Linked DNA regions of Homo sapiens: all the other regions are linked to region 3. Evidence: promoter capture Hi-C in 16 types of primary human blood cells and fetal thymus (Javierre and others, 2016). All regions are on one chromosome and are shown on one strand. The core of a region is centred on a gene start or on the middle of the fragment in contact, and the rest is flanking DNA. Distances in the headings are between cores, read along the strand shown.

Region 1 (4,561 bases), core at 1,968-4,467, 230 kb after region 3:
GGCTTGAATGCCCACCTTTGCAGATGTTATTTAAAAAGAAAATATTGATAAATCAGACTTTATTGAATTTAAAACTTTTGCACTTTAAAAGATACCATTAATAAAACTCAAGATAAGCCACCGACTGGGGGAAAAATACTTGACAATCATATATCTGATAAAAGACTTGTATCTGGCCGGGCACGGTGGCTCATGCCTGTAATCCTAGCACTTTGGGAGGCCGAGGCAGGCGGATCACAAGGTCAGGAGATCGAGACCATCCTGGTCAACATGGTGAAACCCTGTCTTTACTAAAAATACAAAAAATTAGCCGGGCACGGTGGCGGGCGCCTGTAGTCTCAGCTACTCAGGAGGCTGAGGCCGGAGAATGGCGTGAACCCGGGAGGCGGAGCTTGCAGTGAGCCAAGATCGTGCCACTGCACTCCAGCCTGGGTGACAGAGTGAGACTCCGTCTCAAAAAAAAAAAAAAAAAAAAAAAGACTTGTATCTAGAATAAAGAACTCCTACGTTAAGACAAACAACATAATTTTAAAATAAGCAAAATACATTAACAGACATTTCATCAAAGAAAATATATGAGAGCCAGGCTCTCATATGTGCCTGTAGTCCTAGCTATTCGGGAAGCTGAGGCAAGAGGGTCGTTTGAGCCCATGTGTTCGAGGCTACAGTGAGCTATGATCACAACACTGTACTCCATTCTGGGCAACAGCATGAGACCCCGTCTCTAAAAAATAAAATAAAATAATGAAGACATATGAATAGCTAATAAACTCATGAAAAGATGCTAAAAATTAAAACCACAATGATATACCACTATACCCCCACTAGAATGGCTACAACCAAAAACACTAGAATGGCTCCAATCAAAAAGACAGTCAATACTAATTGTTTGATATAGAAAAAATTAGATCTCTCATGTATTGCTGGTGAGAATATAAATTGGTATAGATACTTGGAAAATAGTCTGGCAGTTTCCTAAAAAGTTAAACATAAACTTATCCTATGACCCAGGAACTGCAGTCCTTGGAATTCATCCAAGAGATATGAAAACATACGTCCACACAAAGACACATACATGAATGTGCATAGCAGCATTCCTCATAATAGCCCAAAACTGGAAATATTCCAAATGTCCACCAACTAAAGAATAGATAAAAATGTGGCTTATCTATACAATGAAATTCTATTCAGCAATTAAAAGGAAAAAACCAATCATATACACTACAACATGGATGAACCTCAAAGATTATGCAAATTGAAACAAGTCAGACACAAAAGTCTATATATTATACAATTCCGTTTTTATAAAGTGTCTTGAGAAGGCAGATCAGTGATTGCCTCATGTTGGGTGTAGTTGTGGGTACTATCTGCAAATGGGCAAGAGGGAACTTTGGGGGCAAAGGAAATGTCTCTAACTGGATTACAATGACACTGCACTACTTCAAATTTATTAATCACTGAATTGTACACTTATAATAGGTGAATTTTATGGTGCCTAAATTACACCTCAAGATGCTCATTTAATACAGCTTACAAGGCCCTATGTTATCTATCCCACCTCATTTTGTACTACCCCTCTCTCTATAGTCCAGCAACAGCAGTGTTCCTTCAGTCCCCTCAGACCTCCCAGCACCTTACCATCACAGCCTATATATATGGTATTCTCTGCCTGCAACACTCTTCCTTCCCCTTTTGGGCTAACTAACTCTTCCTCAACCATCTGACCATCCTGACAGAGGAAATTCCACATTCATAGTTCTTTATAGGATCAATGAAGAACCTCTACTTCATTAACAATGTTCACAGAATGTTACATTTATTGAGTTCTTTAATTAATGACTTTCTCCCCTACTCAGCCGTAAGCTCCCCAAAGGCAGCATATCTCATTTTGCTCACCTTTGTATCTCTCTTTCTGTGGCCCAATGCCTATCACATAAGATCTATTAAATAAATGCTGGTTGGATCAATCTCCCTGAGACAGCAGGCAAAAATGGCTGAGAATTTCATTTGTAACTCAAACTATTAAGCAACACTGTTCTCTGTCTCAAATCCTGATCAAGTACCCTAGTGGAGATTTGGAAAAACTAACAAAAATTCATGTTTGTCAACCTGGTACAATTCATTTCAGATGGGAAGAAACCCACTGATCTTTAAATATCTGCAGCAGATTGACCACATCAGACTTAGTTGAAAATTGAAATGGATTTCAAATATAGTGGAATGTAATCTAAGTATCTTTAAGAATAATTTTAGAAGATGACAAGTATAAGTAGTTAAGAATTACTGATCAAAGCATTTTAAGACAGAGGAAAACTTGAGTTTCCTAAGTTACAGATAAGAAATTTCAACCTTTGAGTCAAAAACGCAATGCTGGATAGATAGCAAGTTATGGAAGCTTGCTATCCAACAGCTGAACGAGAGCCCAAATATGCTACTGCACTAGTATCACCTCAAAGCCTTCTTCCCTTCACTCAGCCAGGAAAGAAGGCTCCCCCTGCCACATCACATCTCGCCCTCTGTCTCACTCTCACTTAACCACTGGTTAGCAAGGCTAACCTTAAGCTATAAAGCTATAAAGATTGCCCTGCTCCTGCCTTTTACTGAAACGAAGACCAAAATTAAACTTGAAAGCTCTGAGAAATTTCAGGGAAGATGACAGAGAAACACCACAAGGTCTCCATATGTTACCCACTAAAAAACAGTCTGATGCAAATTTTGTTATTTGGGCTTGGCCTGTTAAAACTATTAGCTTTAAAAACAGCGAGTTCATTTTAAAATATAAAAATGAGCTGAATTTTTATTTATTTATTTATTTATTTATTTATTTATTTATTTTGAGACAGGGTCTCGCTCTGTTGCCCAGGCTGGAGTGCAGTGGTGCAATCTCGGCTCACTGAAACCTCCACCTTCCTGGTTCAAGCGATTGCGCTGCCTCAGCCTCCCGAGTAGCTGGGATTACAGGTGCACGCCACCACTCCTGTCTAATTTTTTTGTATTTTTAGTAGAGACAGGGTTTCACCATGTTGGCCAGAGTGATCTCAAACTCCTGACCTCAGGCAATCCGCCCGCCTTGGCCTTCCAAAGTGCTGAGATTACAGGCGTGAGCCACAGCGCCCGGTCATGAGCTGAAATTTTTTAATGCAACAAGAATAAAGCAGGCCAGGAGTGGTGGCTCACACCTGTAATCCTGGCACTTTAGGAAGCCAAGGCGAGTGGATCACTTAAGCTCCGGAGTTTGAGACCAGCCTGGGCCACATGGTGAGACCCCATCTCTCCTAAAAATATAAAAAAAATTGCTGGGCGTGGTGGTGCATGCCTGTGGTATCAGCTACTTGGTCGACAGATGGGAGGATCACTTGAGCCCAGGGGACAGAGGTTGCAGTGAGCCAAGATTGTACCACTACACTCCAGCCTGGGTGACAGGAGGAGAACCTGTCTCAAAAAAAAAAAAAAAGTTAACTACCAGAAAATATATATGCAATTACCAATAGTGAAGAAATCATAAGACATACAAACATATCCCACAGACTAAAGTTTATCCAGAAACAAAAGACTGAAGTTTGTTAGTTTTTAAATCTCCTAGAGTAATTTAGAGCATTGCCAGTTGCAGTGGCTTGTATCTGTAGTCCCAGCTACTTGGGAGGCTGAGGTGGGAGGACCACTTTAGGCCAGGAGTTCTAGACTGGCCTGGGCAACATAGAAAGACCTTGTCTCCCCACCAAAAAAATTCAGATCATTACTAGAGGTAATAAAGGGTACAATAAATGTTAAATAAAACAATAGTAAATAAGCAATGCTGAAAATAAGTGGAAAATAAAATCCAAAGCATAAATAATTTAAACAGATAAAGTATATGAAGAAACTAAAAAGTATAAAAATACTGCCTGTCAATAATAATGGAGGAAAAAACTAGATGAAAGCATTTGTAAATCTTAAGTATTTTACATGCATATTTCATTTAAATCTCACAGCAGTGCCAGGAGGGAGAGAAACTTTTATCTCCCTTTCATGCATGGCTTAGAGAAATTAATCAACTTGCCCAAGCTTTCACAGCCATATTTCAAGGACTCTCAGCTGCCAGCATTTGCTTGACCTTACAGAAGGTGTCAACAAAAAGTTTTTATGCAACTAGACCATAATTATCCCTGACTAAGCGGGGATTCCAAGGTGCCAATTTCAGAGATGTTAGAATGGATAAAAATGCACAACTTATGCTTGACTAAATGTGATAGTGTGCAGCAACCGATCAGGTGAACCTAAAATATGTAGCGGTTTTTTTGTTTTTTGTTTTTTTAATTTCACAGTGGCACTGCTACGGGAAGGACTAAGATAAAACATAATATGTTCCTGTCTTTGTTGTAGTAAAGAAGAGCTATTATAATCCCTATGGATATAGAAGACAACATGGAATTCACATTTGAAGTATTAAATAGTGACAGGCCTTTTGTTGTCTTTTTTGTCTATAGAGGGACAACTTAACCAAAGCAATGGTTATATCTGCCTAAAATTTGGCAAAGATAATAAATTAGATATTTCAAAAGTGGGTTACTTTAAGGCACTA
Region 2 (4,967 bases), core at 879-3,378, 190 kb after region 3:
CATGGCCCCATAGTTGAAATTTCAGAATTGAAGTCATAAACTCTTTCCGCATCTGCGTGTCTATGTGTAATTCAGAAAGGCTGTTGTCTTTCAATGTGTGAAGGTGCAATAATTTTCTACCTCAGAATGGGATTAACAAATTAGATTATAAAATCTACTACATTATGAAATCTCTTAAAGTAATATATTCTGATTTACTCATAGAGGTAAATAAGTACATATATAAACAGAATATTCCTAAATTTCCCAGAAAATAAGGAGGTTGAAGATCTAACACTTTCAAGAAACCAATTATTGAGCTGTATTAAGAAATCAAGTTCACATAAAAAAAGCAAATCTTTGGAAATGGGACCAGTTTAATATTTATGGTTTAAAAGAAACAGTTGTATCTTTACTGATTTATCAATATTAAGTATAAGCATAGACTTTTATTCTATTTGGGTACGTCATTCATAAACCTATACAGGTTTACTGATTGAATAAACTAGCGTTACTTCTACTTAATGTCTAAGATTATGGAAAAGGTAAATTTGTGTTCAACCAAACAAAATCATTATTCTGATGACCTTGTATTTCAACAGTAATTATGTCTTGCAATATATCAGCTTGAAGACAAATTTCCAAGATCTTTAGGAAACTTAAAAACTCGAACTGGTATCAATTTGAATTAACTAATGAATATGCACTCAATACTGATCTCATTTCTAAGTAAGACTGAATATTGAGACATTTATAACTAAGCATAAATTTAATATTGTCACGCACGTCCATGTGAAGAGACCACCAAACAGGCTTTGTGTGAGCAAGAAAGCTTTTTAATCACCTGGGTGCAGATGGGCTGAGTCTGAAAATAGAGTCAGCAAGGGGAGTTGGGGTGGGGCAGTTTTATAGGATTTGGGTAGGTAGTGGAAAATTTTCACTTCTTTTGTGATTCTTCAGTTGCTTCAGGCGATCTGGATGTATACATGCAGGCTTGGGCTCAGAGGCCTGACAAATATACTTGTTTCTTATTTTTATATGCTACAAAGAGGCTATGTCTTTGGCTCTTTTAATCAGTTAAATGTGTTCATTTTTGCCACTCTTGAGACTTGTACACAATGAAAGTGTACACACAGTTAAAGTTGTGTTAGCTCTGGATGTTAGCTCTGCTAGTTTGCTAAAACAGTGGCATGCAACAGCTCACAATTATCCACTCCCTAGTTTTCTCTGTGTAATAAAAGTTACTTTGGCTAAAAGTTATCAATAACATGTGAATGAGACTACTAGAACAATGGTGGCAGGCAGGTACAACACTACGTGTGAGGTAGTAGGATGGGTTTTGTTTATTAAGGAAAAAAAAATAGTTTTGTCCTAAAATAAAAGGGCTGGTTGTTCCAGAACGAGAAAGAGGGTTGTCTCAGTCTGTTCGCATTACTATAAAGGAATACCTGAGGCTGGGTAATTTATAAAGAAAAGAGGATTATTTGGCTCATGGTTCTGCAGACTATACAAGAAGCATGGTGCCAGGATCTGCTTCCAGAGAGACACTCAAGAAGCTTCCCATTCATGATACAGGGAGAAGGAGAACAGAGATTACAAGGTGAGAGGAAGGACGACAGGTCAAGAGAGCAAGGAGGGAGGTGTCAGGCTCTTCTTAATATGATCTCAGAGGAACTAAGTGAGAATTTATGCATTACCCAGAGGAGGGCATTAAGCCATTCATGAGGGATCCGCCTCTATGACCCAAACCCCTCTCAGAAGACCCTACATCCAACATTGGGGATAACATTTCAATATGAAATTTGGAGGGGACAAATATCCAAACTACATCAGCTGTAAAGGACAAAAATTGATATAGAAAGTTGTAGAAGATTTGAGAAAAGATAATTTTACTTGCCTTGGCCAAAGTTAGCTCAGTTTTGAAAAAAAAAAAAAAAGATTTTATAAAAGTGCTTGTAGTTCCTGTAGTATCAAATATTACACTGATACAATACTGGAGTTTGGTTTTCTCTGTTGAAATTAGAAAATTTTCTTGGATTATTGATCTGCCCTTAGTAAGAGATTGTAAGATATCTGCTGTATAAATAACAAAGATTCTGTTTTACCAAAATAGTTTTCTGTGCTTTTCATGTTGATTGTACAATGTCCTTGATTAAATATTTCTCACTTATGAAAGAGCCAAATGCTTTACAATCATGTAACCTTCACTTTATTTTCAAATGTTTGGATGTCACTTTGAAATGAGTAGGAAAGTATTTCTCAGGCACCTATGATCTGATTCCTAAGTGTTGAAATCTCCTGGTAACTTTTCATTTATGTCTTTACAAATTCAAATCCTAAATGTAAAATAAAATAAAAAATTTGAGATACTTTTGGGACTAAAACTGTCTCTGAGATTTATAAGAGGGCCCATGAAAGAGGACAAAAATTTATTCTTTCACAGTAAAAAAAAAAAAAAAAAAAAGTACTGGAAACAATTGTGTTTGTTACTATTGATGAAACTGCATGGGAGGAATTAGCAAATCAGAAGAGATTTGTCAATGCTCTCACTGTCATGATTAGTTTCTATTTATCAAAGTCCTGATACTCTGCACTGTATAGCTGTTATCACTCTTATGTTTTAAAATGTTAACTTGGTTACAACTTCACTTTTCAAATGTGAATGCAGCATCTTCTGGGCCAGTGGTTTTCAATTAAGGATTCACATAATTTACTATGGAGATGGAGTTTCATTAATATACAGAAGCTTAGGACCCACTCCAGACTTACTAGATCTTTTCACTTGATATTCTGGATACATTATTGGTACATAATATCTAGGATTATTGCTATATTTCAAGATTCATTTCTCTGTAAAGTTTATGCTCATCTGCTTTTATAAATCAGATATAATATTACATCCTTTAACTATAGAGTTCATTATTACATTTTAAATTGTTTAAAATTTTTTTATTGACTTTATTATCTTGTTTTGCATGTCACAGAAACCAGATTTCCTTGTCAGTTATATTTTTCTCAAACTCTCATCAGATCCTTCATTTTTTGAAAATGATCAGTAAAAAATTAACTGCAGCCATTTTAAATGTTTTTATCTGCAGACATCTATTTGTTGCTGTTTTATTCTGATGTTTCCCTCAGAGCCTTTTCAATCAGCTACAGGCCAGAAGGAATCAGAACCCCATGGAAAAGGGCTATGCCAGGTACTTTGGGGCACAGGCTTCTAAATGACATTGCTTAAACAACTTTCAGACCATACCAGTGGCCTAAGTCAGAATTTCCAGGACTCTTATGAGGAAGCCGATGGGTTGATAATACTACTAACCCCACATCCAGTGGAACAAAAATTAACTAGATATGGCTGAATGAGCTAATGAGGGATGACTGTAGTTTTTGTCTGGAATATTGTTGATGCTGTTTGAATGTATTTTCCAGACATATAAGGAAGCCTTTTCTCTTTCTTCTTAAAGCTATCTATAACTCATAACTTAGTAGACTCTGCTTTTGTATACTGAAATGAAACACTTGTAAACATCTTATTCTCCCTGCTTGAGCCCTCCAAAGTTCAGAAACGTAATAAATATTCTATTTTCAGGGCAATAAAGTTATTTGCATAGATTAAATAAGAATCTGTCCTCTTTTTTACTAGGACATAAGTGGAAATATTGGTTTTGCAACTAAACTCACATTTGAAAATGATGCTCATTCAATCAAATATGACTAAACACTTTTAAGTGTTCTGGAACTAAGGAACTAAGACTGCCTTTACAGAGTCATCCTTACAAAGCCTTCTTTGGAAAAACTGGCTTACAGAGTTCCCAGCCTTGCAGGTGAGTAAGAAAAGCCACTTCCTGGGAGGCCCATGAGTCTTAGGATATTTTAGGGACCTCAAGAAATGAGGAATTCTTATAAATAAAACAGGTGAAATCTGATATAGAGTTATTGGCATAGCTTCCTAGCCTTAAGATCACTAGTAACAAGAGGCTTTAAAAAATCCAATCTGAGATTCCTAAAGAAAACGTGCAGCAGAGCAAACTTAAGAACTTTAAGGAACTTTTAACACTCTTGCTGTGCCCAGCTGAACAACGCCTGTAATCTGGGGAAAGAAGACTAAACATCTCATACGTGCCTGACTTGAAGAGTAGCGTAGGGAGAAGACAGAATGGGATAGAGTAGTACAGTCTCTCAAATTTTTAAACAAATTCTAACATCGGGAGGTTGGAAACTAGAATTATTCAGCTTACAGATGCTTTCAGCTTGTGCACAGAGAGAAGGCCATGTCAAGACATGGAGAGAAGGCCAGCAAGAGAGGCCACACCAGAAACTGCACACTGCGAGACCCTGATCTTAAGACTTTCCTACCTCCAGAACTTTGAGAAAATGAATTCTATTATTTAAGCCATGCAGTCTATGGTATTTTCTTATGGCAGCCCAAGCAGACTAATACAGTTAGTAAAATAGATTTGGGAAAATTATGACATAATCTACATCTATCTCAAACATAAAAGGAAAAGCCAAGTCGTCTTAAGGAATAACAAAAATGGCATAAAGTACCATTTTACAAGAAGTTCAATTTTGAAATAAAATTTAGTACATATTTTAGTCACTAAAATTTTAACTCAGGAAAAAAACAATTACATCACAGAAGTCAAGACAGGAAAATTTATTTCTTATAAAACTATATTTCAACAAACTAAGGTAATTTATTTAAAGTAACGTCAAAATGCATCAATATTTGTCTTCAGTATAATAATATAGTCCAAATTTCTAGTAATGTGATTATCTGTTTCCACCACTGCTTTCTTTTTTAAACCTCATTGTGGCAATAATGAAGTTAACAAGCAACTAGAAAATATGAAACAACCAAGCACAAGACCATAACAGCCACACATTTGTTCTAAGCCATTCATCTAGGGTCTCTGGATTTCAGCTTTCTCCTCTATAAAGTGGACTATGTGGAAGTGGAAGGAGGAGGAGAGTAGAGTTAATGA
Region 3 (5,133 bases), core at 1,889-4,388:
TCAATGTAGAATTTTACACTCACTAAAAATACCTTCTGAAAATGAAGAAAAAACATTTCACAAATATAAAAGTTAAAGGAATTCATCATCAGAAGATATGAACAAAAAAAAAATGTTAAAGAAAACCCAGAGACTCACAGTGAGACACACTATAATCAAACTCTCAAAAGTCAAAGACAAAGAGACAATCTTGAAAGCAGCAAAAGAAAGTAACTTGTCATGTAAAAGGAAGCCTTTATAAAATTATCAGTGGATTTATCAACAGAAACCTTGCAGGCCAGAAGGCAGGGGGATAATATATTCAAAGAGCTGAAAGAAAAGAAAATTTCAACCAAAAATATTATATCCAGCAAAACCATCCTTCAAACATAAAGGAAAAATCAGCCTTTCCAGGATGAACAAAAACTGGGGAGTTCATTACCACTGGACCTGCTGTAGTATCTTGCAAGTTGAAACAAAAGGATGCTAAATAGTAACATGAAGTCTTATGAAAATATAAAGCTCTCCAGTAAAGATAAATATATGGACATATATAGAGACTGTACTATGCAGTTTTGGTACATAAATGCACTTTTAATTCTTGTATAGAATTTACAAGACAAAAGCTTAAAAATAACTATAAAACTGTGTTAATGAATACATTACATATGAAGATGTAACTTGTGACATAAGTAACCTAAGGTGAGGGTAGGAGCTTTGAAGAAATAGTTTTTGTACACAGTCGAAGTTATTCTCTTAACAGTTTAAAATAGCTTGTTAACACTTTAAGATGTTTTTTATAATTCTTATGGTAACCATAAAAAAATCTATAGAATACACACAAAAGGAAACAGGAAGGGAATCAAAATGTCACCACAAAAAAAAATCGACAAAACCCAAAAGAGGTCAGTAAGAGAAGGAATAAAAAACAAAATTTACAAAACATACAGGAAACAACAAAATGGCAAGTGTAGGTCCTTCCCTATCAGTAATTACTTTAAATGTAAATGGATTAAACTCCTGAATCAAAAGATATAGACTGGAAAATGGATTTGTAAAAAGGATCCAACTTTATCCTGTCATTTAGGTCTAAGAAACAAATATGCTTAAAATGAAAAAAAGGAAAAGTAAATGCCATGCAAATGGTAAATAAAAGCAAGCAGAAGTGACTATACTACTATCCAACAAAATAGACTTAAAGTCAAAAATAGTCACAAGACAAAAAAATGGATATTATATAACAAAAAGTCAATTCAGCAGAAAGATATAACAATTACAAATATATATACCTCTAATACCAGAGCTCCTAAATATCTGAAGCAAACATTGACAGATCAGAGAGGAAACATAAACAGCATAATAATGGTAGGCGACTTCAATTCCTCACTTACAATAATGGCTAGAACAACAAGACAGAAAATCGATAAGGAAATACAGTACTTGAACAACACTATAAATAGTGCTAACAAACATGTGCAGAACATTCCACCCAATAAAATCAGAATAGTATTTTTCTCAAGTTTACATGGAATATTCCCAAAGATAAATCACATGTTATACCACAAAAAAACTTGTAACAAATTTTAAAAGATTGAAATTATACAAAATATCTATTTTGATGAAAATGACATAAAACTAGACATCAGTAGCAGAAGGAAAACAAAAAATTCACAAATATGTGAAAATTAAACAACACAGTTTTCAACAAGCAATGGGTCAAAAAAGAAATCACAAGGGAAGTTAGAAAATATCTTGAGATAAAGGAAAATAAAAATACAATGTACCAAAATGTGTAAGATGCAGCAGAAGCAGTGCTAACAGAGAATTTTATAGCTATAAATATGTGCATTATAAAAGGAAGAAAGTGGCTAGGCATGGTGGGTCATGCCTGCAATCCCAGCACTTTGACAGGCTGAGGGAGGAGAACTTCTGGAGGCCAGGAATTTGAGACCAGCCTGGGCAACAAAGCAAGACCCCATCTCCACAACTTAAGAAAAAAAAAAAAAGAAGTAGAAGAAAGTTTGCAAATCAACAACCTAACTTTATACCTCAGGAAACTAGGAGAGAAAAAAAACTACACCCAAAGCTAGCAGAAGGAGGAAAATCCTAAAGATTAGATTAAATCAGAGATAAATGAAATATAGAATATAAAAACAATAGAAAAAAATCAACAAAACTAAGAGGTGGTTTTTGAAAACACCAACAAAATTAACAAATGCTTAGCTAGATTAACTAAGGAAAAAAGATTCAACTAATAAATCAGAAATAAAAAAGAGAACATTAGAACCCATGCCATAGAAATCAAAAGGATTATAAGAAAATACCATCAACAGTTAATTATATGTCAACAAATTGGATAATTTAGAAGTGCATAAATTTCTAGAAATATACAACCTAATAAGAGTGAATCATGAAGAAGTAGAAAAAACGAACAGACTTATAACTACGAAGGAGATTAAACTGGTTCAAAAACCTCCAAACAAACAACAGCCCAGAACCGGATGACTACCAAACATTTAAGGAAGAATTAGAACCAATGTTTCTCAAAGTCATTTACAAAAATGAATATAAAAAACACTTCAAAGCTCATTATATGAGGCCAGTATTACCCTGATTTCAAAGTCAAACAAAGACATTACATGAAAAGAAAACTACAGACCAATATTTGTGATGATCAGGTTGGCTTTATTCCTGGAATGCAAGAATGATAGAACATGTGGCAGGGTGTGCTGGCTCATGCCTGTAATCCCAGCACTTTGGGAGGCTGAGACAGGAGAATCCCTTGAACCCAGGAGGCAAATGTTGCAGTGAGCTGAGGTCATGCCACTGCACTCCAGCCAGAATGACAGAATGAGATTTCATCTCAAAAAAAAAGAATAATACAACATGCAAAAATCAATGTAATACACTATAGTAATAGAATAAAGGACAAAACAGCATGATCATTTATATTGATGTAGAAAAAATGTTTAACAAAATTTAACACCTTTTATCACGAAAACACTCAGCAAACTAGGAATAGAAGGAAAATAACATAATAAAGGCCATATATGAAAAATCCACAGGTAAACTTACACTCAATGGTAAAAGATTCAAACTTTTCTTCTGGATTAGGAACAAGACAAGTATACTCTGTCTCTTCGCTTCTATTCAATATAGTATTTGAATTTCCAAGCAGACCAATTAGGAAAAAAAAATTAAGCAAGAAAAGACATCCAAAGAATAAAAGAAAAAAGTAAAATTATCTCTGCTCACAGATGACTTGATCCTATATGCATAAAATCCTAGACTCCTGCATAAAATCTAGAAAACTGTTAGATGCATATATGCATAAAATCCAGAAAACTGTTGGAACTATTAAACAAATTCTGGAAAGTTGCAGGATCCAAAATCGACACACAAAAATCAGTTGCCTTTCTATAAATTAACTATAAACAATCCAAAGGTAATTAAGAAAATAATTTAATTACAATACCATCAAAAATAGTAAAATACTTAGGAATAAACTTAGCCAGGGAAATAAAAGGCTTGTACACTGAAAACTACAAAACAGTACTGAAAGAAGTCACAAATAAATGTAAAGACATTGGTATTCATGGATTGGAAGATTTAATGTTAAGATCTCCAAAATATCAGATGTATTCCCCAAATCTGTACAACATTATGTATTAATTTGAAAAGTCAATAGAACCCAAAGCAGTCTACAAATTATATGTAATCCCTATCAAAATCTAAGCTGCATTTTTTGAAAAAAGAGAAAAATTTATCTAAATATTCATATATACTCTGACTAGACAATCTTGAAAACTAACTGAGTTGAAGGTCTCATGCTCCGTGATCTCAAAACATGTTACAAGACTACAGTAATTAAAACAGCATGACACTGGCTTAAAGAGAGACATATAGACCAATGGAATAGAATAAAGAACCCATTAAAAGAAAACTCCACATATATGGTCAAATAATATTTACAGCATTCCAGATCCGCTCAATGAGGGAAGAACATTCTCTTCAACAAACAGTGTTGGGAAACTTGGATATCCACACATGAAAGAGTGAAGTTGAAACTTTGTCTTATGCCATATACAAGAATTAACTCAAAATGGATTTAAAACTTAAATGGAAGATCTAAAACTATAAAACTCTTAGAATAAGGGGATATGGCAATTATTTTTTAATATGACACCAAAAGTACAGACAACAAAAGAAAAAATAGACAATTGGGACTACATCAAACTTTTTAAAACTTTTATGCATTAAAGGACATAACAATGTTAAAAAAAACTTGTGGATGGAAGAAAATATTAGTAAATTATATATCTGATAAAGAGTTAATATCCAGAATATATAAATAATTTCTACAACACAATATTTAAAAATAATATGATTTTAAAATGGCAAAAGGATTTGAATAGACATTTCTTTTAAAATTATATATGAATGGGCAAAAAACATAAGAAAAAATGCTCAGCATCCAAACTGGAAAGGAAATCATTAGAGAAATGTAAATCAAAACCACAATGTAATATCTCCTCACAAAAATTGAGTGGTTTACTATTAAGAAAAAGAAATATTAGATAGGATGCAGTTGATAGCAAACAGCTTAAAAGCAACGTGACCCCAGATACTAACTCAAAGCCACACAAAAAACAAAAAGCTCTGGCAAAGACATTTATTTATATTTTTATTTATGTATTTATTGAGGGTTTTGCTGTTTTGTTGTTGTTGTTGTTTACTGTTTTATTTTTGCTTTTTCAACTTTTATTTTAGATTCAGAGGGCACTTGTGCAAGTTTGTAACCTGGGTATATTGTGTGATGTTGAGGTTTGGGGTATGAATGGTCCCATTACCCAGATACTGAGAATAGTACTCAACAGTTTTTCAACACTTTCTCCCTTCCCTCCTTCACCACCCCAATAGTCCCCAGTGTCTATTGTTGCTATCTTTATGTCCATCAGTACCCAGTGTTTACCTCCCCCTTATGAGTGAGAATATGTGGTATTTGATTTTCTGTTTCTGTATTTGTTTGCCTAGGATAAAGTCCTCTAGCCAAATCCATGTTGCTGCAAATGACATGATTTTCTTCATTTTCTTTTATTTTTTATTTTTATTTATTTTTTTTTATTATTATACTTTAAGTTTTAGGGTACATGT
Region 4 (5,270 bases), core at 1,919-4,418, 210 kb after region 3:
AAGCATTTTTTTAGAGGAAACAAAACAATATGGAAAAAAATATACAGTCAGGCATTTATCTTTGGTGCTGTTTTATTCATGTGTAAAATAAGGAAGTCATCTCAATAACATCACATATCAAAAGCCATTAACAACGATTACAGGACACTAGGACTGTAGTATTATTTACTGCAATCTCTGCATTAAAAAATAAATTAGGGGCCCAATAGGGTGGCTCACACCTATAATCCCAACACTTTGGAAAGCCAAGGTGGGAGGATGGCTTGAGGCCAGGAGTTTGAGGCCAGCCTTGGCAACATAGCAAGATCTCATCTCTTCAAAATAAAAAATTTAGCCACATGTGATGGTGTATGCCTATAGTCCCAGCTATTCAGGAGGCTGGGATGGGAGGATCACTTGAGCCCAGCAGTTCAAGGCTGCAGTGAGCTATGATCATGCCACTGCACTCCAGCCTGTGAGAGTGAGACCCAATCTCTAAACTAAATAAATAAAAACAAAGAGTGAAAAATAAATAAATATATTTGAGTGGTTTTCTTATTTTCAAGTTACTGACAGAAAATCTGAAAAATTATCTGCCACCTAGTTGTCCAATTCACACAGGACAGCTATAAGAGAGTAGTGACAACCAAGAAATCATAATCATCAAGTCCTACAGTGATACCTAGACAAACGTATTCATACACCACCTTGACTCAACTTATATGCAACACACTGAAACCAACTGCAAATGCTTCACTTACCGCACAACCAGACAAGACTCTTGGTTTTACCTAGATTATGTACACTCTTAACTAGCAAACTCTCACTAGACCAACATCCACAGAGGTCAGCTACAGTTATTCTGTGCATTCCTTCCATCTCTAAACTCTAAATAAATAAACAGCAAACCATTACCAGTTCTCAAGTTTTACGTGAGAATTGGCTGATATAGGTAAGCTGCTAATATATAAAATAGCTGGAATCGATATTGTTGGCTTTTTACTAAGAATATTTAAAATTGCAGGACCTCAAAGTTGCACATAATTTTATCTGCATTTAAGCTTCAAAAATCTATATATGCAAAAGAAAATGTAGATGTAGCCGTTCAAATGGGTCAACCTGAATTTAATGTTTTATAACAGCATACTCTTTTTTAATCTCTAGAAAAACATCAAAACTTCTCTTTATTCTCAAAGAAAACAAGCCTACAAAGCAGAAAATGACCATTTAGTAAAGAAGTCATCTTTGGTTCTTAAATGTTAAGCATGCTACAACTTTCTATACATGTTTGAGCCAACTAGGAGATACTTCCAAGGGGTTTCAGAGATCGCTGTGATTACCAAATAGGAAAAACACGCTTGGAAGCAGAAGTGAAAGACTCCAGGGAGCAAGAACAGGTAAACAGGTGACAAAGAAATTCTGGTTTCCAGGTATGAGAAAATTAATCTCTTGTGGCCCTTGCAGGTAAGGTAGATGGATGATTCAAGAAGCCACGCAAATGATCTCACAGATGGTGATGCCTAACCAGACAGTAATCTGCAACAGGTTTATTTTAAAGATGCATATTCATCTCTTCATGAAAACATACTTCTATAAAAAAGCTAGAAATGGTCTAAAAGACAGTAACTAGAATGCTGAGAGACCCAACTAATAATACGTGATTATAAGGGATTTTTATCCTGCAGAATAAGACTGGCAGTTCCTGGAAGCAAAAAGTAAAAGTGTCAGTAAGAGAAAGCTACAGACAGTTTGGTCTTATACTGTATCTCAAATCTCTGGTAGCCCAAAAAAAAAAGCACAAAACAACCGCCTTTCGAAGTAGTGGGTTAGCATCAGGGCTGATGCCCTAATGGTGCCCTAAAAACAAACTGGCCATGATAATACAGAGTAGGTTCAAGCATTAAACTGGGAGTTTGCCCACATGGCTCTGGAGATACTGCAATGTTAAAATTCAAGAGGTTTTCTCCAAGTTCCTTATATTAGGTTTTTATTATTTAAAAGGGAAGAATTTATCTAATAGAGAAAAGAGAATAATTTTTAAGTAGTAAAAGTGTGGTGATTCTGTCTAAAGATATTGTTATCACTTGAACATTGTGAGGTCATTTTTTCAAAAGATGTTAGGTACAAATGAATACAGTATGATCTATCAATACTCATGTGTTTTTAGAGCAAATACGAAATTGTGTTTACTGACCATCATCCTGATGCTGCATGGTAAAATCCTCCTTTTGACCTCAGTAGCAGGACAACAGGGCCAAAACTAGGACTGTTTATAAATATATAAAATACCACTTTTATTTTCTGTGTAGCTTACTTTAAATATAAGTTGATCATTGAATTACCTTCTTACTTATCACCTTTCAGGAATCCTGGGATACAGATCATTTCTTTCAGGATCCCTTTATCAAGGAGGACAGGGCAGAAAATTGAAAAATGTATTTTTTGGACAATCTTGCAATTTGGGTTCCAGACATGTAGAAGAATTCCAGATAATTCATGTAAAGACTCCACCTTCAAGGAGGGGGAGCACAACTCCCCATTCTTTAAAGTGGGCTATGCCTAGTGACTTCCTTCCAAAGAATGAAGTACAAAAGGGGAGAAAAAGAGTAACTTTATAGTGGAGAGACCTGATAGTCACTATATCAGCCAGGTGGTCAAGAAAATCAGTCATAAATCATGTTGATAGTATACTCGATCTGTTGTGATGAACTGGTACATTGTATCTGTGGACTTCCATCCCAAAACCTATAACCCTAGTCTAGTCATGAGAAAAATATCAGACAATTCCCATAGAAGGACATTCCACAAAATACCTGATCAGTATTCTTCAAAACTGTCAAGGTAATCTAAAACAAGGGAAGTCTGAGAAACTGTCATAGCCAAGAGGAGCCTAAGGAGATACAACAACAAAATGTAATATGCTACATCCTAGAGATGAGATCCTGGAACACAAAAAGGACATTAGTTAAAAAGTAGGGAAATCTGAATAAAGCATGGACTTTAAAACTATAATGTATTCATATTAGTTCACTAACTATGATGAATGCAGCACACTATTTTAAGATGTTAATAATATGAGAAACTGGAAGCTTGGTTCAAGATGGCTAACTAGATGCAGCTAGTACATGCCTCTTCCATGGAAAGCTCCAAAACGGCGAGTAGATATTCACCCTTCAAATAGGTCATCTAAAACAGAACACTGGAATTCAACTGAAAAGCAACAGGAATCACTGATCACAAAGGAGAAGGAAGCAAGGCACGTGCTCAGCCAGGATTGCTGAGAGATGAAAGAAGCTTCTAGATGCTGGGAAAGGGTAGATGAGAGACTCCCAGGGCTCCACATTCCCACCATGGACTTTTGCAACGCTAGCTGTGGGAGACCCCCTTGACCCTCGCAGGTCTCCAGCCTAATAGAGTGAGTTGCCTGGAGATTGACAGAGGCATTGCTCAAACTCACATGGGAGTACACAGGCTTCCGAGCCCTGAGCAGCTGCTGCTACCAGCCAACAAGCCAGGCTGAAGAGAGGAGGCCAGGCACTTTTACACAACCACTGTGCTTCTTGTACAGTCTGCAGAATAGTGAGCCAAATAAAATCTCTTATTTATAAATTACCCAGCCTTGGGCATTCCTTTATAGCACAAGAGGGGACTTCAACACCCCACTGACAGCACTAGACAGACCACTGAGACAGAAAAAAAAAGAAAAAAAAAACCCCACTGGATTTAAATTGGACTGTAGAACAAATAGACCTAACAGATGTTTATATAACAAGCTACCCAACAATCACAGAATATACATTCTTCTTATTAGCATGTGGAACATTTTCCAAGACAGACCTTATCTTAAGGAATGAAGCAAGTCTCAATAAATTTTTAAAAAACTGAAATCATTTCAAGTTGTCTTCTCAGACTACAGTGGAAAAAACCTAAAGTCAATTCCAAGAAGGACTCTCAAATCTATACAAATACATGGAAATTAACCTGCTCTTGAATGATTTTTGGGTCAGTGATGAAATTAAGATGGAAGTTTAAAAATTTTTTAAACAAAAGTAGAGACACAACATACCAAAACCTCTGGAATACAGCAAAAGCTTATAGTGTTGACTGTAAATGGATTCAAGAAAGAAAAGTTTATAGCGTTAAATGCCTAAATCGAAAAAAATAGAAAGACCACAAGTTAACCTGACATAGTACCTCAAGGAACTAGAAAAACAAGAACAAACCAAACCCAGAAGAAAAGAAATGATGAAGAGCAGAACTAAATGAAATCCAGATCATAAAAACCCAAAAGATAAAGAAACAAAAAGTTGCTTCACTGAAAAGATAAACAAAATTGACAGCCTACTAGCTACATTAACCAAGAAGAAAGAAAATTCAAATAAGCACAATCAGAAATGAAAAAGACACTACAAATGATACCACAGAAATACAAAAGATCATCAGAGTCTACCATGAACATCTCTACACTAACGAACTAGAAAACCTAGATGAAACAGGTAAATTCCTAAAGACACACAACCTCTCAAGAATGAACTAAGAAAGAGAAAGCCTGAAGAGACCAATAACCAGTAAGACTTAACCAGTAATAAAAATAAAAAAAAATCTCCCAACAACAAAAAACCCCAGAAGCAGATGAATTCACAGCCAAATTCTACCAGACATAGAAGAATAGGTACCAATCCTATTGACAACACTGTTCCCCCAAATTGAAGAAAATCCTCTCTAACTGAAGCCAGTATCACCCTAACACCAAATCCAAGCAAGGACACACAAAAACAGAAACAGAATCAATCAGTACCCCTAATGAACACAGATGCAAAAACGCTCAAGAAAATACTAGCAAACCAAATCCAACAGCACATCAAAAAACATGGTACACCACAATCAAGTGGGTTATATTCCAGGGATACAAGTAGGGTTTAACATACAAAAATCAATAAATGTGATCTGCCACATAAACAGGATTAAAAACAAAAACCATATTATCTCGATAGATACAGAAAAAGCATTTGATAAAATTCAGCATTCTTTCATGATAAAAACCACTCAACAACTTGGTGTAGTAGGAACATACCTCAAAATAATAAAACCCATATACAAGAATCCCACAGCCAACATCATACTGAATGGGGAAAGGTTGAAAGCATTCCCCTTAAGAAATGGAAGAAGACAAGGATCCCCACTCTTACCACTCCTACTCAACACAGTACTAAAAGTCCTATCGGGCCAGAGCAGTAATGCAATAGAAAGAAAGAAAAGACATCTAAATTGTAAAAGAGGAAGTTAAACTA
Region 5 (4,675 bases), core at 138-2,637, 170 kb after region 3:
GGACACACTAAGTGTCCAGTCGCAAACAGCACACAGTAAAAATGTATTCAAGAAGGGGCCGGGCACGGTGGCTCACGCCTGTAATCCTAGCACTTTGGGAGGCCAAGGCGGGTGGATCAGGAGGTCAGGAGTTTGAGGCCAGCCTGATCAACATAGTGAAACCCTGTCTCTACTAAAAATACAAAAATTAGCTGGGCGTGGTGGCACGCACCTGTAATCCCAGCTACTCAGGAGGCTGAGGCAGGAGAATTGCTTAAATCCAGGAGGCGGAGGTTGCAGTGAGCCAAGATTGCACCACGGCACTCCAGCCTGGGCTACGGAGCGAGACTCTGTCTAAAAAAAAATGTATGCAAGAAGGAAAAAATAATGTATGGTTCTCCATTGTTCAGCAATAAATAATAAAGCTACCATTAAATGAACTGTCCTGGCCCAATCAACCTAAGGTCACCAGGATTCAACGAACTTTGACAAGAGTCAGGTTTGTTGGCTCAGTGTAATGGGTGAGCTGCCCCATGGTTCCATGCAAATGTTAATCCCAAGACTCGGAACAACCCTGAAGGTTGTATTATTACCCTACTTTTTTTTTTTTTTTTTTTTTTGAGACGGAGTTTTGCTCTTGTTGCCTAAGCTGGAGTGCAATGGTGTGATCTTAGCTCACTGCAACCTCCGCCTCCCAGGTTCAAGCGATTCTCCTGCCTCAGCCTCCCAAGCAGCTGGGACTGCAGGTGTGCACCACCACGCCTGGCTATTTTTTTGGAATTTTAGTAAAGATGGGGTTTCATCATGTTGGCCAGGCTGGTCTCAAACTCCTGACCTCAGGTGATCCGCCCGCTTCAGCCTCCCAAATTGCTGCGATTACAGGTGTGAGCCACCACGCCTGGCTTACCCTACTTTTACTGATAACTAAATTAAAGCTCAGAGAGATGTCCTTTTTCAAAATCACATGGCTAGTAAACCATCATCCATGTTAATTCCAAAACCCTTACAAAGCTCAAAATACCCACAACCCAAGCCAGGACAATAGCCTTTCCTCTAGACTTTTTAAGATGGTGGTTTGCAAACAGTTTTTTTTAACTATAGGAAGAAGTTTCCTTTAAATAAAATGTGACTGAAATCCATGAATGAACAGGTACATATTTAAAGCATAGGATGTCCTCCTTCAGAACTGCCCTTGGCTACTAGGGCAAGGCGACATACATGTGTTACTGAGCGTTTTTTAACACATTTAATTCAACTTAAGCAAACAGGCCATCTGCAGCTGCACCTTCTCACTTTTCTCCGTGCTTAGACACTGATTAGCTCCTTTAAAAGGTGCAAAAATGGGCAGCAATGGTTTACCACTGCATAGTTCTAGCACTGCAGCATTCCTGGCCAAAGGGACAGCAAAAGAAAAGAAATGGAGGTTGGATGGGAAAAAATATTTTGTGAAAGGCATTCCTATTTTTAACGCAAAATTAAGCGGAAGAATAATATAATTAGATTACAAATATGCCTAAGAACAGACAAATGTCTTAAGAAGGTTTGCCAGAGTTTACTTTTAGTCTTAAAAAAATAAGGTGACCTGAATGAAAACATATATGTAGTCAGCACATTAAAATGGCATATAATGTAACTGTTCATTTCAGAGTATCTAGGAGGCCTGAGACAGCAGATAGACTTTGTCACTTGTTCAAATCCTCCCAGCTGAATCTGTGGTGTGTTTGGCCATATGCCAAAAACATGGGGAAAAGGTCCACCCTTACAAAGAACTTTCATGGCCTTAACTGTATGGCGAAGGGGTTGGCCAGAGTCAATGTGTGGGCTGAGAGAGGAGCACTGCCTGGAAGCAAGCTCACTGCATCAGATACACTCTGCTGGTTCCCAGGCCATACCCTAGCAGCCAGTGTGCTCCTGGTGCGCTAAAAAGACCACACCACAGGTGAGGAGATGCTGTTGGATGGCTGATTCACTTCCCAAGCCCTCCTTTCCCTAGCTGCCTTCCAGCTAGAGGTGGCCTGTGATCCAGTTCTGGCCAGGGAGATGTAAGCAGATTTCAGGCGGCCAGGTGGGACTTGTGGGACAACTTTTGCCTTCCTGCTGAAAATGGTGACTCTCAGCTAACAGACCTGTTAATCCTTGATCAGTCCTCTAATTCCTGCCAAGGCCACAACCGCAATGCCTGAAGGTCCAGCTCTCATCGTGAGACCATGTGTCAAGTAGGAGATAGCACAGAGAGGAAAGAGCCTGGGTCCCTGGCAACATCTGTTACAGGGAGCCGAAGACCCATGGGACGTGACCAACTCAGCATTCCCCTGGAGACTATATGATCAAACAGCAAACCGTTCATCATGAATGCAGGATATGAGCAAACTCACGACTGCTCCGGCCGACTGCTCCTGCCAACAGAAGGTTTGCTGGAGGCAATCACTCCCTGGCGCCAAGGTTCTCTACTGCAACATCTAGAACCTTTTGTTCAAGGAATGCAGTCTTGCAAGCCTACTCTAGACTGAGCAGCTGACCCCTTCTTCCACCCGCCTTCTCACTATCTCTTTTGCCTAATAAATATGGAGGGCTGTGTAAAGCTCAGGGCCCTTGTCCACTAGAGCCAAGATGCCTCCTTCTTCCAAATATACTCTTTTGTCTCTTGTCTTTTATTCCCGCCTTCACCCCTTGTTCAGTTCCCCTAGGTCCATGCGGGTTACACAGTGGCACCCCGAACAGCCACAGAATCGGGTGCACTACAATCTGTGATCAACTCTGCCCTGGATCACCTGCTTCCAGACACCTTGTCAAATGAACCATATAAATCCATAATTATGTAAGTCATCATAGTTAGCTTTCTGTTACTTTCAGTCAAATATATTCCTAATTGTGGCAACAGACTCTCCTGTGCCTGAGATTTCTTCTGCCTTAAAGTATATGGTTTTCTGGAAAAAATGGAATTTTCTCCCAGAAGTCACTTCCCCCAACACACACTCAAAATTGCCTTACCAGAAAAATGTAACTGCCACATACCTCTTATGGTCCCAGAACAGATTACAGAAATGTATCAAGAACTCTAACGTCTTTTCAAAAAAAAAAAAAAGAGTATAAACACATGTAAGGCATAAGAACAGAAAAGACTCAAGGTAATAAATAACATTTTTCAGTGGCACTCTACCTTAGAAATGTTGCTTGAATGACTCATGAAATGTCCCAAAGTCTTCTCATTCTGCAAGAAAATCAAACAGGTTTTAATTATCAATCTTTGATTAAAATATGCAAAGAACAAGTAATTGATCACAACAACCCTACTGACAAATCATTCCCTGAACTAGAATTTGCAAAGCACAACCTACTATATACTAGATGTATGTAGCCAGGCAGTAAATATTGCACATTTGGGCAAAATGAATACACAATAGTCCCTGTCCTAAAGGATTTAACATTTTATTTAAGAGATTTAATTTTTTATTATCAGGAAAAAATAAGAGTTTAGAATTCACTGTCAAAATAAGATGGTAATAAGTGTCTTAAGTCACATTTCACGTGAAAGTTCAGATGGTGATAAGTGTCTTAAGACACATTTCAAGTGGAGAGGCTGCATGCTCAGTTGTATGTGACACAGTCCACATTATGAGGAGTCACGGCGAAAGAGTGAAGAAAGTAGGACAGCTGACCAGTCCTGGGGTGTCTGGCTAACAAAGTGCTGAATACTCAATCGGGATATCACACAGCTCACATCTCCTTCAACTCAGTTTCTCCTCCTGGAGCAGGGAAATCTGGGAGCCATGCCAGCCTCCTTCCTCTCATGCCCCTCCACATTCAGTCACATAGTCTTGTATCAAATTCTTCCTCCTCTCAATCACAACTCATTTTCATTTTTATTGACAATGCTTTAGTTTAGATTCTCTTCATTTCTCAGCTAGAATTCTTGAAGAATAACATCCCACCTGGCCTTTTTGCCTTTAGGTTGACCTCCCTGATACACAACTATCATGGGCTAAACTGTGTATTCCCCTCCCTTCTGTGAAAATTTAGATGTTGATGTCCTAAACTCCTTCTTCCTCAGAATATAACTATTTGGAATAGGGACTTTAAAGATGTAATTAAGTTTACATGAGGTCAATAGTAGTCCCGGCTACTCAGGAGGTGACTCTAATCCTAGTGGACTCTAATCCAATAGGATTGGTGTCCTTGTAATAAGAGGAGTTTGTGACACAGACACACACAGATAAAAGACAATGTGAACACAGAGGGAGAAGATGGCCATCTACAAGCCAAGGAGAAACCAGCCCTGCTGCCACCTTCATCTTGGACTTCCAGCCTCCAGACTATGAGAAAATAAATTTCTGTTGTTTAAGCCACCTTCCGTATGGCAATTTGTTATGGCAACCCTCAAACAACTACGATCATCTTCCATCCTATGACTTTCTTTAAAAAAAAAAAGTGAACACTCTAAACATAAATCTGATTTTTAAAAATAAAGTCATTTTCCTGAATCTACTCATTCTTGCTCTAAACCCAAATGAGTAACAAAAACTATTGCCTAAGGAAGAGAAGATCTTAGTTGTATTTCCTTGCTCTGTCACCTAGGCTGGGAGTGCAGTGGCATGATCATGGTTCATGGCAGCCTTGACCTCTTGGGCTCAAGTGATCCTCCTGCCTCAGCCTTCTGAGGAATTGGGACTACAGGGATGTGCCAACATGTCTGACT

The links. The method cuts DNA at HindIII sites, captures the fragments that hold promoters and counts their contacts. A CHiCAGO score of 5 or more calls a contact.
Region 1: a fragment that was not itself captured here is called in contact with the fragment with the promoter of OR13A1 in region 3 in 1 of 17 cell types (neutrophils); the score reaches 6.9 in neutrophils.
Region 2: a contact is called between a fragment that was not itself captured here and the fragment with the promoter of OR13A1 in region 3, in 5 of 17 cell types (total B cells, neutrophils, M2 macrophages and 2 more). The highest score is 7.5, in total B cells.
Region 4: a contact is called between a fragment that was not itself captured here and the fragment with the promoter of OR13A1 in region 3, in 4 of 17 cell types (total B cells, naive B cells, M1 macrophages and 1 more). The highest score is 8.5, in total B cells.
Region 5: a contact is called between a fragment that was not itself captured here and the fragment with the promoter of OR13A1 in region 3, in 3 of 17 cell types (total B cells, neutrophils and monocytes). The highest score is 5.4, in total B cells.

Annotation. Positions count from the first base shown.
Region 1 is chr10:45,543,343-45,547,903 of GRCh38, forward strand. It overlaps a transcript of MARCHF8 not described here. Among named protein-coding and RNA genes, the nearest start is that of MARCHF8, 10 kb to the left of the region's middle. The HindIII fragment of the contact is 1,649 bases long and covers 2,394-4,042 here.
Region 2 is chr10:45,505,911-45,510,877 of GRCh38, forward strand. All of the region lies in intron 2 of MARCHF8 (membrane associated ring-CH-type finger 8), which reads right to left. LOC105378286 (a long non-coding RNA gene) reads left to right here. Exons shown (of 3, transcript XR_945919.1): 2 at 3,626-3,806. Among named protein-coding and RNA genes, the nearest start is that of MARCHF8, 27 kb to the right of the region's middle. The HindIII fragment of the contact is 1,190 bases long and covers 1,534-2,723 here.
Region 3 is chr10:45,312,470-45,317,602 of GRCh38, forward strand. It overlaps OR13A1 (olfactory receptor family 13 subfamily A member 1), which reads right to left and starts at 3,139. Exons shown (of 4, transcript NM_001004297.3): 1 at 3,055-3,139. The HindIII fragment of the contact is 10,818 bases long and covers 604-5,133 here.
Region 4 is chr10:45,523,045-45,528,314 of GRCh38, forward strand. All of the region lies in intron 2 of MARCHF8 (membrane associated ring-CH-type finger 8), which reads right to left. Among named protein-coding and RNA genes, the nearest start is that of MARCHF8, 9.7 kb to the right of the region's middle. The HindIII fragment of the contact is 205 bases long and covers 3,067-3,271 here.
Region 5 is chr10:45,486,228-45,490,902 of GRCh38, forward strand. MARCHF8 (membrane associated ring-CH-type finger 8) reads right to left here. Exons shown (of 8, transcript NM_001282866.2): 3 at 3,140-3,190. The region is part of intron 1 of LOC105378286 (a long non-coding RNA gene); the gene reads left to right. Among named protein-coding and RNA genes, the nearest start is that of MARCHF8, 47 kb to the right of the region's middle. The HindIII fragment of the contact is 8,910 bases long and covers 1-4,675 here.